6 separate regions of the Homo sapiens genome follow, and regions 2, 3, 4, 5 and 6 are each linked to region 1. The links are contacts of gene promoters, found by promoter capture Hi-C in human tissues and cell types (Jung and others, 2019). All regions are on one chromosome and are shown on one strand. Each heading gives the region's core, a stretch centred on a gene start or on the middle of the fragment in contact. The rest is flanking DNA. Distances are from core to core; before and after follow the strand shown. Region 1 holds the start of FOXC1 (forkhead box C1). Region 2 has its middle 180 kb from the start of GMDS-DT. Region 3 overlaps GMDS-DT (GMDS divergent transcript). Region 4 overlaps GMDS-DT (GMDS divergent transcript). Region 5 overlaps GMDS-DT (GMDS divergent transcript). Region 6 overlaps GMDS (GDP-mannose 4,6-dehydratase).

Region 1 (2,580 bases), core at 37-2,536:
CTGGCTCTTTCCCGCTCCTTCGTTTCTTTCCCTCATTTCTCTTCTTCCTGTCCCATTCCAACCACCCAGCGACGGCGAATCTCAGGCGTGTGCACAACGAGCGGGGGCCCTTCCGTGCGTGTCCCCCCAGAATCCTTGAACCGCCCTCTAGGTGCGACCCTGGACGTTCCCCCAGACACACCCGTTGTCTCTGCGAGCCGGCAGCCCCGCGCATGTGGAGATGGAGACTGGCCTGGGGAAGCGTTAAGCTCTTAGACATATTTATTTGCTTCTTGTCATCACACCTGCTAATGTCACCGAGCCCGCAGCCTGACCCCTCATCTGAGCCGAAACGGGCCTGACGGGATCAGAGGGGGCGGCGGCGCGGCGAGCCGGTGGGACCCTCGCGGGCGGGCAGGGGAGCGCGGGGCAGCAGCCGGGCTCCGGCAGCCCTCGCCGCCCGCACCCTCAGGCCGCCAAGGGCCGGCCCCCCGGGGAGGGGGGCGAGAAGCAGGGCGGCCCGCAGCGGGGCGGGCTCATCCTTCGCGGGTGAACGGCCGTCGGAAACTCCCAGCAGGGCCCCGCACCCCTTGCCTTCATTTCGGCTGGGGAGGGGTCATGGAGGGGGGCCAGATGGGCGACGAACCTTCTTCCCCACCGCGAGCAGGGCCTGGCTGTGACCGAGCCCTCAAAATCATGTCCTTTGTAGCCGAGTTCAGGACAGGAGAACCTCCAAGTGGAGAAAAGCCGGAGACGTCAGTGACCCGAGTGAGACTGGCGTTGGAGAAGGGAGGGAAGGGGCTGCGGGAGGGGAGAGGCGGCGGGGAGGAGAGGCTGGGGCAACCCCAGCGCTGGCGTCGGCGGGGCTGGCGAAGGAATGAGAGCGAGCCAGCACGAGGCGGGGCGGAGACGCCAGGGCCACTCGGGAGCCGTGGGCGAAGGAAGGGTCTGCACGGGGTCCCGGGAGGACCCAGGAAGTCTGCGCGAACGGCGGGCGTGGGTCCGGAGGGCCCGGGGTGGGAGGTCTGCCGGGCGCCGGCGGCAGGCAGGTGGACTGCGGGGGGCGAACCGACGGCGGGCCGGGCGCCGGCGCGGGCGCAGGGCCGGGGCCCGGGCCAGGGCGGCCGGCGCGCGTGTGGTCAGCCCCGCGGTCCTCCGGCCTCCGGGAGCGGGCCGGCAGGGCTCGGCCTCCGGCTCATTCGGAGGCGGTTCTCACCTCCCATTGGCTGCCGCCGCTGGCGGGGCGGGGCTCCGCTGCCCGGAAAAAAGTGTAACTGCGTAAAAAAGTCCTCGCCTGGGTGACGGATGCTCAAAAGTTCAGAAGTTTTCCCAATGCTTCCTTAAGCGGCTGGCGCGCGAGAGACCGAGAAAAGGTGACGCGGGGCCCGGGCAGGCGGCCGGCGCGCGGCCCCCCCCCCCCCCGCCCTGGTTATTTGGCCGCCTTCGCCGGCAGCTCAGGGCAGAGTCTCCTGGAAGGCGCAGGCAGTGTGGCGAGAAGGGCGCCTGCTTGTTCTTTCTTTTTGTCTGCTTTCCCCCGTTTGCGCCTGGAAGCTGCGCCGCGAGTTCCTGCAAGGCGGTCTGCCGCGGCCGGGCCCGGCCTTCTCCCCTCGCAGCGACCCCGCCTCGCGGCCGCGCGGGCCCCGAGGTAGCCCGAGGCGCCGGAGGAGCCAGCCCCAGCGAGCGCCGGGAGAGGCGGCAGCGCAGCCGGACGCACAGCGCAGCGGGCCGGCACCAGCTCGGCCGGGCCCGGACTCGGACTCGGCGGCCGGCGCGGCGCGGCCCGGCCCGAGCGAGGGTGGGGGGCGGCGGGCGGCGCGGGGCGGCGGCGAGCGGGGGCCATGCAGGCGCGCTACTCCGTGTCCAGCCCCAACTCCCTGGGAGTGGTGCCCTACCTCGGCGGCGAGCAGAGCTACTACCGCGCGGCGGCCGCGGCGGCCGGGGGCGGCTACACCGCCATGCCGGCCCCCATGAGCGTGTACTCGCACCCTGCGCACGCCGAGCAGTACCCGGGCGGCATGGCCCGCGCCTACGGGCCCTACACGCCGCAGCCGCAGCCCAAGGACATGGTGAAGCCGCCCTATAGCTACATCGCGCTCATCACCATGGCCATCCAGAACGCCCCGGACAAGAAGATCACCCTGAACGGCATCTACCAGTTCATCATGGACCGCTTCCCCTTCTACCGGGACAACAAGCAGGGCTGGCAGAACAGCATCCGCCACAACCTCTCGCTCAACGAGTGCTTCGTCAAGGTGCCGCGCGACGACAAGAAGCCGGGCAAGGGCAGCTACTGGACGCTGGACCCGGACTCCTACAACATGTTCGAGAACGGCAGCTTCCTGCGGCGGCGGCGGCGCTTCAAGAAGAAGGACGCGGTGAAGGACAAGGAGGAGAAGGACAGGCTGCACCTCAAGGAGCCGCCCCCGCCCGGCCGCCAGCCCCCGCCCGCGCCGCCGGAGCAGGCCGACGGCAACGCGCCCGGTCCGCAGCCGCCGCCCGTGCGCATCCAGGACATCAAGACCGAGAACGGTACGTGCCCCTCGCCGCCCCAGCCCCTGTCCCCGGCCGCCGCCCTGGGCAGCGGCAGCGCCGCCGCGGTGC
Region 2 (2,580 bases), core at 29-2,528, 820 kb after region 1:
GGGCCAGGGCAGCAGAAGATTCCTGTGGCAAGAGGTAAAGAAAGCTACTGAGACTGTCAGAATGCAGCAGCCTCCACAGAGTGGGGAGGGACAGGAGCTGTGCTCAGGTTGGGTGGGGGTGACAGTGGGGGCAGCAGAGAGAGAAAAGTTGCATTTCCAGAGGGGAGTTTTATATTTTAGCATCTTTAGGCTCATTCTAAATTTTAGTGCAGTCTAATTCAATCAGGAGAATTGAGTCAGTAAAAAGTTAACGTTAATAAAAATTTCCTAAAAGCAATAGGCTTGCGCTACACATTACACCAGATGTCTTCATTCTATGAAGCCTTGGGGAATGGCCCTTTCCCCTCAGAGGCCACTACAAGGAGACGGGGTTTCCAAGGACCCTCCTTCCACCTCTGTCTGCTTACACATGGATTTATCTGTCTGATCGATTAGGAACCTGTAGACTGACATTTAAAGAAAGGGTACAGAATCTAAAAAGACATTAAGAGACTTCGCATGTGATTCTCAGGGATACTCCACATGGATATGCACGACCTGAGAGCTTGTTAAATGTGCAGATGCCCCACCCTCACTCCCAGGCCATCTGCTTCCTGGATTCTGGGAGACCTGATCTGCATTTCCACAAGCACAAACACGACTTCAGAAAAAGTTGGTTTAGTGGGTCCAAGAAAGTTGACACCTATGGCATGCAGAAATTGTTCTAGATGTTTGGAGAAAACAGGGAACAAAATAAAGACCCTGCCCCACGGAGTTCATATTCCAGTGAAGGAAGGCAGATAATACATTGATTATACGATCAATGAGAAGGTGGTGAGGGCAGTGACGGGAGAAAAATAGACCAGAGGGCAGGCAATGGAGGGTCATAGTAGGGACAGGCTGCAATACTAAGGAGAAAGGTCAGGTGAGGTCAAAGAGGGAATGATGGGAGCTGAGTAGGTTGGGATGGGTGACTTCTGCTTTTGCTCAGAGGGCCACAGAAAGCCATCTGAGAGTGCTCAGCAGAAGACTGAATAACCTGCAGAACATTTTCTGAGGATAATGTTGGCTCTTGCCTTGAGAGTAGATCTGGAGGTGGGGTAGGAGTGGGGGAATCTATTAGAAGGTAATTGCAGGAATCTAGGCAAGAGATGACAGTGGGTTGGACCTGGTAGCAGCAGGGCAGGTGGTGAGAAGAGTTTGGTCCTGGGGATATCTTGAAGGTAGAGTCAGAATTCCCCATAGGTTAGGATGAGGCATAGAAGAGAAAGAAAGAGGTATAAACAACTCTAGAGATGGGTCAGCATCAACTGAAACGGGAAAGGCTGCTGGTTGGGGAGGGAAGATTGAGAGTTTGATTTTGGACACATTGAAGTTGACATGCTTATCAGACATCTGTGGGGTCTGTGGAGTGGATCGCTGAAGTTTGGGAGAGAGGTGTGGACTAGGGAGGGTCATTGGCATATAGATACTGTTTACAGCTGTGAGACTGGATGAGATCCCAAGGGGAAGGAGTGTCTATAGAGAGAGGGTGGAGGCCAAGACATGGCTCTGGGAAACTCCAACACCTGAGGTCAGGGAGTAGAGGGGAGCCAGCAGTGAAGATGGGAAGGAAAAGACCAGTGAAGTGGGGGGGAAAGTGGAGTGAGGTGTCCTGAAAGTCAAATGAAGAAAGAGAATCAAGGAGAAAGGAGTGATTGGCCATGTCTGGAGCTACTGATGAGTCAAGTAAGATGAGGACTGAGAACTGGCTGTGAAACTTTATAGTGAGAGAAAGCGTAGTATGATTGTATGCTGATAATCTGGTTGAATGGGAAAACATAGTGATGTAGGAGACAGGGAGCAATGCCTTTGAGTAGACCTGAGGATATGGGCTGGACAGTGCAAATAGAGAGCTTTGCTTTAGCAGGAGATTGTACAATTTATCTGCAATAAAGGAAGGAAGGCAGAATGCATGGGTACAGATGCTGGGAAATGGGTGGGTGAGGTGTGGGAGTGTAAGCATTCTCTTCTGGGTGCTGTGATGTTCTCAGGGAAGTAGAGTCGAGTTTCTTGAGAGTTAAGACATGATTGAGATTGTATTTTTGTTAAGGAAGCGTGACCAAGCCAGAAGAAGCAAGGAAGCTGAGGATATGTGCAAAGAAGTGATTATACCGATTTACCATGGAATGTAAACTAAGCTTCAAGGGCATCACATGGGTGTGGGCCACAGACGGCCTGGATCGCTGGGTTGGAGGTACCAATGAGTCAGCAGTATTATTGCTCTGGGAGATCAGACAGGCTGAACAAGGAAGAGAAAGTGGGGACCAGAAATAAATGTTTTTGGTGCTATTCGAAACTGTATTTTCCTTAATAGAAGATTAATTCTTCAGGAATCAGACCTTCAGTGTATGTGAATTAAGATGATAAAAGGAAAGGAAGGGACTGTTGGATCAAATAAAAAATTATTTATTCATCATTTACTTTATGCCCTGTTGTGTGCTTGCCTTTGGGGAAACTTTTAATTTAGTTAAATCTACATTTTCTAAGAATTTCTAGTGAAGTGCTAAACCAGAGTGTATTGACCATTAGAACTCCCAGTGTATAGAGAAGGTGCTGTGT
Region 3 (2,580 bases), core at 33-2,532, 800 kb after region 1:
GGCTCTTGTTCCTTGTTTCCTTCTGTATTTCTGTTTCTTGAGACTTTATCTGTTGAAATTCTTTGAGATTGAGTTGAGGTTGGGTTCCTTTTGAGAGTACAGATGGTCCCTGACTTATGATGGTTTGACTTCACAATTTTTTGACTTTACTATGGTGCAAAAGTGATATGCATTCACGGAAAACTGCATGATCCTCTTTTGAGATGCTAGGCAGTCAGCCAGGGGATCATGATCGTAAGGGCAAACAACTGATAAGTGACAGTGAGCTGTGTTGTCTGTTGCCCAGCTGCAGGCTAATGTAAATTCTGAGCACAACGAAGGTGACTAGGCCAAGCTCTGATGTTTGGTAGGCTAGTCATATTAAATGCATTTTAGACCTATGATATTTTCAACTTACAATGAGTTTATCAGGAGGTAACCTCATGGTAAGTCGAGGAGCACCTGTATATGACATTTCTTCTAGAAGTCACCTGGGGCATGACCAGCTTGAGACCAATTTGTCTGTTTTTTCAAAACACAGACATAGTGTGTATTGGCTGAAAACCCATATGAGTGGGGATTGTAGTTAAGACTTCTCAAGATAGGCATGTTCTTTCTTTCCCCTTCTTTGCTAGTCTGTTTCCTACTTACCCTTATACTAAGGCTATAGATGTTCTAGGCTTCACTTGGTGGGGCAGTCTCTCCACCTTGGGTGGGCTTAATTTTCTGTTTCTCATGCCCCTGTAGCTCTCAAATGGAAACGAAAGGTCATCAGAGTTCAGTACTTAGTTTTGGGTGGAGGCTGCTTTGGATCTTCCTTACTTTCCGTAGTTCCCAGGCTCAGTATCTTACTTTGAAACTGGAAACTCCTGCTTCCAAGTTTCAGAGTAAGATAGATGCCTCACTTTATTGCTGGCATGTTGATTCACTAAAATGTTATTTTCTTTTGTTTCATATTTATCCAGTTTCATTTATTTTCCTTTTCTGAAATTGGGGCTGGGTCATTTAGGGTTTCTAGTCCACCAGACTTGGAAATAAATGTCTGGAGTCACGTTTAAGTGGACTTTACCTAAAAGGGCCACCTGGAGAGCCAGAGACCCGACCGGGGAGAGAGTTTGTGTTGATTGGACCATCAGAAACAGAGTTAATAGGGAGTTGTAAGTGGCTAAACATGGGAAGCAGGGAGCTTTTTGAGAGATCCACAGTTATGCAGAACGTCTCTTAAATGTACTCCAGGAAAAATAGTCAGTTTTGGGGGTCCCCAAGACAAGGGAGCACTATTAGAAGGTGGAGGCACTGTCTGCCAAATCAGAGCTTCCCTGGCCTTGGCTTTCTCCCAGGAGGAGCCAGAGGAGGATTTGTGAGGAGGGGACAGTACAGAAGCATGAAGCTTAGAAAGACAAGAGACCCCTGCCCACTCCAAGGCCTCCAAGGCAAAGCCGAGAGTGGGGAGAAGCTTTAAGTAAAGTTCAGAATTTTGATTAAGACAGAGGAACAAGTACACCAATGGCAAAAAGAAGACCACTCTTGTATATTCTTACAACTATGGTTGTACCCAATCTCCCTTCCAGAGGAGGGCAGGAACAAATTCCACAGGACAGGTTGAAATGAGGGGTGCATAGAATAAAGGCATTTCCTGGTAGAACCTTGTGAATCCTCTCTTTTAACATGGAAACTGCCTAGGATTCATGCCAGAATACCAAGTAGTTGGAGGGATAAGAGTAGGTAAGGAAAAATGGGGTTTCAGTATGCTTTTTTGTTTGTTTGTTTTTGAGACAGGGTCTTGCTCTGTCACCCAGGCTGGAGAGCAGTGGTGCGATCACAACTTACTGCAGCCTTGACCTCCCGGGCTCAAGCAATCCTCCCACCTCAGCCTCCCAGGTAGCTGGGATTACAGGCACACTCCATCAGGCCCGGCTAGTTTTGTATTTTTAGTAGAGATGGGGCTTCACCATGTTGGCCAGGCTGTTCTCAAACTCCACCCACTTTGGCCTCCCAAAGTGCTGGGATTACAGGAGTGAGCCACCGTACTTGGCCATTTTTTGTTTGTTTGTAGAGATGGAGTTTCACGGTGTTACCCAGGCTGGTCTTGAACTCCTGGGCTCAAGCAATCTGCCCATCTGGGCCTTCCAAAGTGTTGGGATTACAGGCGTGAGCTACTGTGCCCGGCTGCTCTTTATTTAAAGTAAGGGGGATTTGAGTACATTTCTCTGTGGTTGAGAATGAGCCTGTATAGAAGGAGACGGTGAAGGAAAAGGAGAGGGAGATAGTCATGAGAGGGAAAGTCCCTTGGATGCAGAAGGGTGGGCTCCAGAGTGGAGGTGAAGTAACCATAGATGAGGGGGGAGGGCACCTGTTTCATTTTAATAGGGAGGGAGAAGAAAAGGTGAATGTACTTACAGGTTAAATCTGTATATTTTGTGGGAGAAATCTGAGGGATTACTGATCTGATGACTTCTTTTCTCTTTGAATTGGGGCAGGGTTATTTTCTTAGGGTAAAGGACCAGGTGATGGGGTGATGAGTTTTAGGCAAATCAAGGCCACTTGAAAGAGCTTCTCTGGAGGATGGGGGGCCTTGTCGCCCAACCAAGGCTGAAAATC
Region 4 (2,580 bases), core at 46-2,545, 770 kb after region 1:
AATGGAGGTTGAAAGTTTATTTAGTACAGCATTTTATGGGGGAAATCAGCACAACTGCAAGCCCTCCTCGCACTGCTTGCTGCTGCCATTTAAGCTAGTCACCTGTTTAACAATAGTAATAATTTGATTTGATCTCAAGGACAATTGAGATTGAAGGAAGGTTGTGAATTTGAGTGCAGTGTCTAAAGGATGACATCCATGTTTGTGCCTCCTCCCCCCTCAAAGCTCTTGTCTGAAACACCACTGTTCCAGAACACCTGGGGCTTCTTTACCTGAGTATTATGCTATTCTCATTAAGCACAAGAACATGCAACAATTACGTAGAAGTGTGCGTGTGGGGAAAATTGAACACATTTCACAAGGGAATGGTGAGGGAGTGGGTATACAAAGCCGGCTTTGAACCTGCAAACCCGGGCCAGCCAACATGTCACAGGTGAGAGCGTGTTAGTGAGAGGGTGATGACAGTTCTGGGACCGTTAATTCATGGATCCTCAGATACACTCGGGCAATTGTTCTGGGTTTCCGGGAGGTGCGAGGGCGTTCCTCCTCCAGGGCGCGTGCAGGCCACGCTGAGCAGCCCTGCTGAACGTCTCCCGGTGTGCCGTCTCTCTGTTTCTCTGTTCCCCTTTCCGTCTTCTCTCTTATGTTCCTACTTGTCCTTTCTTCTTGACTTCCTCCTTTGTTCCAATGTGATGATTATGGACGAGTTAGAAAGAGGTAGTAAAACAAAATGAAGATAGTCTATTCGAATATTTGGCCGCCACCACTATAGCATAATATAAAATGCAGAAAAACCAGTTGGCAACTTCTCGTTGATTTGTAGGCCGTATGACGCCCCAGGTGTCATCAGGGCAGGTGGAGAGTGTCTCCTGCATCGTGGAATAAGTATGAAGCTTTGGCTCTGGCAATGACCACAGGACGTGGCATAAAAATGAATTTTTTTGTGGGGTAGAAATCTTTCCTGTTTGTGCTAAGAGCATTTGTCCCTTGTTATACACATAACACATATACAACCTCCCCTACACCCAACACACACACAGCACATCCAAATCCAACACACCACACACACATACACATATGTACACATCCAAAACACATTGACACCACACAGACTCCACACACCACACACACTCAACCCCTCCCCACAAACTCTAAACCTCCACTATATCCCCAACACATGCACCACACCACACACAAACTCAACACACCAAACACACATACACATATAAACACACATACCCACACCCAACACACACACACCCAGCACATATACACACCACACACCCTCTACACACCACACACAAACCTCCAAATATACCCAACACACACACCAACCCAATGCATTACACACACATATACAAATATACACACACTCAGCACACACACCCAACACACGCTGACATCCCACACACTCCACAACAGACTGCACACACAACCCCCCCATATACACAACTAACACGTACACACACACCATACCACATGTATCCACCACACATGTACACATGTGCACACACACACCACACGTGTGTGCCCACTCACAGCCGGATGGGGAAAAGCAGGCACAGCCAGTCAGGGGTGAGCAGCTGAAGAACCCTGATGGGAGCAGGTAGCCTGGAGGGACGTGGGGTTAACTCTTTCCAAATAAGGAGCTTTCCAAACTGCCATTTCCGTATTCTAAGGCTTGACAGCTTTTGAAAGGATGAAAAGAGCGTGTATTTTCCAGAAATCCTTCATGTGACTATTTGCTTCATTTCAATGCCTCAGAACACCACCAACAAAAAACCCACTCACACCCTTGCTGGTGGTTGCTACAGTGCAATTGGCTGCAGGCTTTTGTTTAGAAGTTTGCAGCAGTCCGGGAAGGAGGTTTTCTTCCTCCCGGAGCTGAGAAGGCCTGTCTTCAGCACCAACGTGTCTTCTGGCCTTGCCAATAAAGAAGTAAGAAGCCACTGTGAAAAAACCATCATTCTCAACAATAGGCCAATAAACGGTTGGCAGAAATGCCATGCGCGCCCCTCCGAGGACGGGGCAGCGTGTTTGAAGAGTCACCATGGTAGTGATATTTTATGAGCATGAGTCACTTGTCTGTTTTTCAGGGAGCGCTTTGCTCGGCCCATCTCTTTTAGTACATTTCCATTTGGTGTGGTTTGGCTGCTGAGTGCAGTGTGGCAGCAAGTTACTTAAAAACATTTCACAAAAAGCCAGATTCCCCAGCGCTGGCATACCTGTGGACCACATAGATGGCTGTAATTGCAAACAGCTGCCCACCCACCCACGGAACAGTGAGAGGTCATTTTAAAACATGTTAAAAATAGCCTGCCCCAGGAGAAGCTGGTTCATTTGTTGATTCAAAAATATTTGCCACCAAGAAGCGTGTTCTGAACATATACTCCAGTTAACATTTCAGAGGTTCACTCAGGACTAGTCCAAGGTTAACTTTAGTCCAGTTGCTCTGTGTATCCATGAATTCAACTAACCATGGATGACAAATATTCAGAAAAAAAAACAATAAAAAATAACAACACAACAATAAAAACAACACAAATTAAAAGAATGCACTATAAAACCACTCATATAGCA
Region 5 (2,580 bases), core at 36-2,535, 650 kb after region 1:
TAGGAAGCTCCCCTCTATTCTTAGTAGGCTGAGTGTTTTTATCATAAACAGGCAGTGGATTTTGTCAAATGTCTTTTCTGTGTATATTGATAAGATCATATGATTTTCTTTTTTAGCCAGTTGATGTGATGGACTACCTTAATTGATTTTTGAATGTTGAGCCAGCCTTATGCATGTGGGATAAACCCCTGTTGATCATGGTATGTATTTCATTTTATACAGTGTCAGCTTTAGTTTGCTGGATTTTTAAAATATGAAATCTCTTTTATAATTTCATCAGGATATTGGAATAAAAAAGATGTAGATGCATATATTCAGTCATTCCTTTTGAACCAGTTATATTTCTAAAAGCTTAACAAAAGTCTGGAGAAATCTCTTTTATGTTCTGAGGAGTTAAAAATTATATTACAAGGAAGCAACAAGAGAAAAGACTTATCCCCAATTGTTCCTGGTGCCTATTATTGCTTAGTAAACCACCCCAAAACTTGGTGATTTAAACAACAATGGTCATTTATGTTGCCTGTTAATTGCAATCTGGGCAGGGCTCTGCAGGGAAGGCTCATCTCTGCCTCACAGGGACATTCAGTGGCTGGAAGGTCCACCTCCAGGCTAGCTAACACACAGTTGGCAAGTCGGTACTCACTGCCTCTGTGTGGGAGCTCAGCCACAGCTCAGAGCTAGGCATTCTCACAGCACAATGGCTGGTTCCCAAGGCCAAGTATCCTGAGAGAGAGCTAGGTAGATGTTGTATTGCCTTCAGCTGTACTTTGTTAGTCAAGGCAGTTGCAAAGTCATGTGCAGGCTGAAGGGGAGGGAACAGAGACTCCATGTGAGGACACAAGAAGAAGGCAGCCATCTGCAAGCCAGAAAGTAAGGCCTCACCAGAAACCAAATTTTCCAACACCTTAATCTTGGACCTCTTGCCTTCAGAACTGTGAGAAAATAAATCCTGTTGTTCAAGCCATGCAGCCTGTGGTACATAGTCATAGCAGCCAGAACACATTAAGACAAACCCCGTTAGGCCTTGAATGCTAATGTCAGGCAAAGACCTAGCATATTAAGGCCGTTTTTAGACAGAGAGCTTTTTTGACTACCACAGTGGTAAATGGAGCATGCCAGTCATGTAAAGAGGCCCATAGGGTAGAAATCCCTGCCATTCTAGTATTCTTACGACAAGCTGACTATATGCAGGCAGAACAAAGGGACAGATGCCCCACTAGTGATTAAGGAAACAATGTGCCTTGGGGAGACGGGAAGGCTCTAGAATGGTATGAGCACCTTCAGATGGATAGGCTTGGATTCTAGAAATCCTTATGTGGATGGGTAGAGCCCAAATGGCCAGCACCTCCACTCATGCATGAGACCAGTGCATAAGAGATACACATCATAGAGTTTTCATCTGCTACTGGGGTCTGGCTCTTACACCTGTATGAACATGTGTAGAGCCTAGGTAGGACCATCCTATGAATGAATGTTCAGGAGTCACCCATCCCCATGAATGGAAACTAGGACTGATGGAACTAGGTATTTCCTGAACACTCAAAGTGGATCAACCTAATAGTGAACAAAACCACATCTGACAAGGAGAAGGCATAGGGACTACCTAGTGTTAGGAAACAGTCCCCGATTTCTGACTCATCCTGCTATAAGCCAACTTCTTTCCCACAAGACAGTACAGGACACAGCCTACAGGAGGAAATAGAAGTCCTGATCTTTCTCTTTCAGTATCCTGTGCTGTCAGAGGTCACTTTAGCTAGGCTTAAAAACCAGAAGGAAAAGAATTTCAGGATGGCAAAGGGATGGGCATGGTAGTGGTAAGACGATGAGGTGTGAGGGGCAGAGGAATAAGAAATTTAATGGTTTTTATTCAGACTTTATTATTTGGGCATGAGCCATTGGTGATTAACTCAATCTCCAGCCCCTTTGCCCTCCCTGAAGGTTGGGGAGGCAGGAAGTCCATCCCTCTGATCATGCCTTGGTCTCCATTCCCCAAACCCCATCCTGAAGCTATCTAGGGCCCCCAATACCGAGTCATTTCATTAGAGAAGGACATTCATCACTCCAGAAATTCCAAGGGTCTTAGAAGCTCTTGTGTTAGAAACTGGGGACTAAGACCAAATATTATAACAAAAAGATGTTCCCAGCATTCCTATCATCCAGGCAGTTACAAAGGTTTTTGGAACTCTGTGTCAGGAATCAGGAGCAGAGACCAGGTATCTATTTCTTGTCATGTCCCACAAGAGGATGCAGAAAATCTGGGATTGTAACTGTTGATGGTTATGTAATCTCAGGAAACTTCTTTGTCCTCCATTGCTTCACAATTAAATGGGGCAGATATGCCTCCCCTCTCTCACTCTATTTCCTGAGCACACATTCCAGAATCTCAGCAAACTCTAGAGACAAAGACACAGCCCTGGCCCCCAGGGAGCAAGGTCTTAGGGTGCTGGAGAAAATTATCGTTTTTGTTCCCTTCCAATAGTGAAATCTATGATCATTAAAAAAATACAGTATACCTCCTAATTAAGCCAAGTTTCCCTTCTCATTTTAGTTATCAGGAATTTAAATCAATCAAGGCATAAA
Region 6 (2,580 bases), core at 54-2,553, 540 kb after region 1:
ATGCTGGTATGACTAAGCCAAGTGTGGCAAATTCTGATTTGCAGTGTGGACACCTCCAGTTAATAGATCTATTCAGTGATTCAACATGCACCTCCAAGTCGTAAGCCGGGCAGCAAAGTATAAATATGAGACTTACAAGCATTCTCTGATCTCTGAGTTTGTATTCACATCTATCAAGTTTTTGTTTGTTTGTTTGTTTTTGTTTTTTTTGAGATGGAGTTTACCTCTTGTCGCCCAGGCTGGAGTGCAATGGTGTGATCTCTGCTCACTGAAACCTTCACGTCCTGGGTTCAAGCTATTCTCCTGCCTCAGCCTCTCAAGTAGCTGGGATTACAGGCATGCACCACCACGCCTGGCTAATTTTGTATTATTAGTAGAGCAGGTGTTTCACCATGTTGGCCAGGCTGGTCTCCAACTCCTGACCTCAGGTGATCCGCCCGCCTTGGCCTCCCAAAGTGCTGGGATTACAGGCATGAACCACCACGTCCGGCCTGAAGTTAGTCTTGATGGAAGGTTCTCAAAGACCTATTATTACATCCTGTGTATTATATCAGCTTTGTCAAAGAGGTGAAGTTTAGGAAGCTGTGTTTCATAAAAACCCCAAATCTGAGTAAGTCTATGGGAGCACCATTCACGGACATGCAGCAATACGGTAGAACACGTGAGAAACTGCTCATCTGGACTGCACTGTAACACAAGCACCCTACCCTAGAGGTACAACATGCAGGTACCGCTGATACAGCAGGCTTCCACAGCATGGTTACGAATCATCACATCAGACATGGAGAGCACCTGAGGGATCACCTAATATAACTGCTTCACCAATGAGGAAAGCAAGACCTTGATGACATAAAATACGGAAAAGAATAAAAATAGACGCACATAACATTTCTTCTGCTTGCTCAAAGTTATCCCCGACAATTTAAGATGATTAAGGGCTTTATCTTGGAATGCTTAGCTCACAGAAAAAAAAGGTAGGCAACTATATATTCTTATTAATTGGAAAAATCATTGAACAGCCAGTGGTTTGATTTGAAGAGAGCATCAGTTTTGTTGATTTCATTAAAATGAATGTAAAGAGAACAAGGTGTATTGACTTTTTATTTTTTTAGCCACACCACCAGCAAATACTGCATCACTTACATGTGTGTTTCCTTCTGTCTGGAAATCCTGGGTGGACAATTTAACTGCCACAGAACTCCCATGAACAGGCACACACAATAAACACGCACATAAGGATTATGTGAGGCGTCTACCACAGAATGGCTTTTTCAGCCACCTGAACCTAGGTCCATTAAAAGAAACTAGGCAGCGTGGAGCAGAGCAGCTGTCCCAACACAGGCAGTAATGGAGCTGACAATATTCCCACGCCAGTTCTGAATCCAGTCTATTTTATGCTCTTGCGTGGATTCAAGGAAACAGAACTACTATTTAAAAGTGCATTTACAAAGAGGGCTTTAAAAAGCGTTAGAATAAATTACTTTGAAGTGTATTTCTACAACACGCCTCCAGCTTTCCCTTCTTTTCCTATTTGCTCGTCCCCAGAACCCAACGGTGACTATATTTAACTGACTTTACAAGCTGTGGGGAGACTGAGTACACACAGCAGATTCCAGCCAGGATTGTGTGCATTAACTAAGTCCCAAGGTTTTTTGCTTGGGAGCTTTCTCTTTCTTTTTTTCATCTTCTTCACATGTCTTAAAATTACCTTATATCCTGGAAATAACAGAAAAATTTTAAAAGACCCTCTATTTTGGTTTGCTGTATAGGTTGAGTCCTGATATTTTTAATCATATTAACAATATGCTCAAGGCAAACACTGCCACGACCCAGTATTCTTACAGTTTGTAAGTATTTTATTATTTCCTTGAAAAAACACTCATTCCATCTAGTACGTATTGTGAGAGAAGATCAAGTACTTGTAAAATAATTTTCATTTAGGAACAGGTATATACAGATTAACGGTATTTGGAACTGACTAGAATGACAATGAAATCACCAACTTCTGATCAAGGTGAAATAAATTAATGATTTCACTAAGGCCAGATGCAGTGGTTCATGACTCTAATCCTGGCATTTTGGGAGGCTGAGGTGGGACCATTTGAGCCCAGGAGTTCAAGAAAAGCCTGGGCTACACAGTGAGACTCCTTTCTATTTTAAAAAAATAAAAATTTTTAAACATAAAAATAAAATTTCACTAAGTGGAATGCCTCTGGCTATAAAGTCTACCTCTCCCACTAACACGAAACTATCTCCATGGAATTCTAGGGATGTGGATTCCAGTATCAGATTAGCTTTACCATTTATAACAATGTCCTGTGGGAAAACCACTAACTTCTTTTGGCTTCAGTTTTCTCATCTATAAAATTAGGGCTTCACACCCTAAAGTAATCTCTAAAATTATTTCCACCTATAAGAAGCAATTATTTCAGATTAAGAATCCACAACAATCTTAAACTAAAGAATATTTAAAAGATGGGGTGTTTCTGCAAACTTTGAAGATTTTGGCCATAAACTGAGTTCTAATTACTCAGTAAATTTAAAAGTGCTTAGGCTGACTACCACTTCTGTTATCAACAC

The links. The method cuts DNA at HindIII sites, captures the fragments that hold promoters and counts their contacts. A contact is called where the count stands out against the background at its distance.
Region 2: a contact is called between a fragment that was not itself captured here and the fragment with the promoter of FOXC1 in region 1, in 1 of the 25 tissues and cell types used here (IMR-90 fibroblasts).
Region 3: a fragment that was not itself captured here is called in contact with the fragment with the promoter of FOXC1 in region 1 in 2 of the 25 tissues and cell types used here (lymphoblastoid cells and mesendoderm cells).
Region 4: a fragment that was not itself captured here is called in contact with the fragment with the promoter of FOXC1 in region 1 in 2 of the 25 tissues and cell types used here (dorsolateral prefrontal cortex and lymphoblastoid cells).
Region 5: a fragment that was not itself captured here is called in contact with the fragment with the promoter of FOXC1 in region 1 in 1 of the 25 tissues and cell types used here (spleen).
Region 6: a fragment that was not itself captured here is called in contact with the fragment with the promoter of FOXC1 in region 1 in 2 of the 25 tissues and cell types used here (dorsolateral prefrontal cortex and lymphoblastoid cells).

Annotation. Positions count from the first base shown.
Region 1 is chr6:1,608,629-1,611,208 of GRCh38, forward strand. It overlaps FOXC1 (forkhead box C1), which reads left to right and starts at 1,287. Exons shown (of 1, transcript NM_001453.3): 1 at 1,287-2,580. The coding sequence starts at 1,818. RefSeq lists a silencer at 1,095-1,714 and an enhancer at 2,045-2,144. The HindIII fragment of the contact is 11,200 bases long and covers 1-2,580 here.
Region 2 is chr6:2,427,510-2,430,089 of GRCh38, forward strand. No RefSeq gene overlaps it. Among named protein-coding and RNA genes, the nearest start is that of GMDS-DT, 180 kb to the left of the region's middle. The HindIII fragment of the contact is 5,871 bases long and covers 1-2,580 here.
Region 3 is chr6:2,407,786-2,410,365 of GRCh38, forward strand. All of the region lies in intron 6 of GMDS-DT (GMDS divergent transcript), which reads left to right. Among named protein-coding and RNA genes, the nearest start is that of GMDS-DT, 160 kb to the left of the region's middle. The HindIII fragment of the contact is 3,666 bases long and covers 1-2,580 here.
Region 4 is chr6:2,375,094-2,377,673 of GRCh38, forward strand. The region is part of intron 4 of GMDS-DT (GMDS divergent transcript); the gene reads left to right. Among named protein-coding and RNA genes, the nearest start is that of GMDS-DT, 130 kb to the left of the region's middle. The HindIII fragment of the contact is 6,747 bases long and covers 1-2,580 here.
Region 5 is chr6:2,263,485-2,266,064 of GRCh38, forward strand. GMDS-DT (GMDS divergent transcript) reads left to right here. Exons shown (of 7, transcript NR_046229.1): 3 at 117-200. Among named protein-coding and RNA genes, the nearest start is that of GMDS-DT, 19 kb to the left of the region's middle. The HindIII fragment of the contact is 4,554 bases long and covers 1-2,580 here.
Region 6 is chr6:2,148,228-2,150,807 of GRCh38, forward strand. The region is part of intron 1 of GMDS (GDP-mannose 4,6-dehydratase); the gene reads right to left. Among named protein-coding and RNA genes, the nearest start is that of GMDS, 96 kb to the right of the region's middle. The HindIII fragment of the contact is 7,569 bases long and covers 1-2,580 here.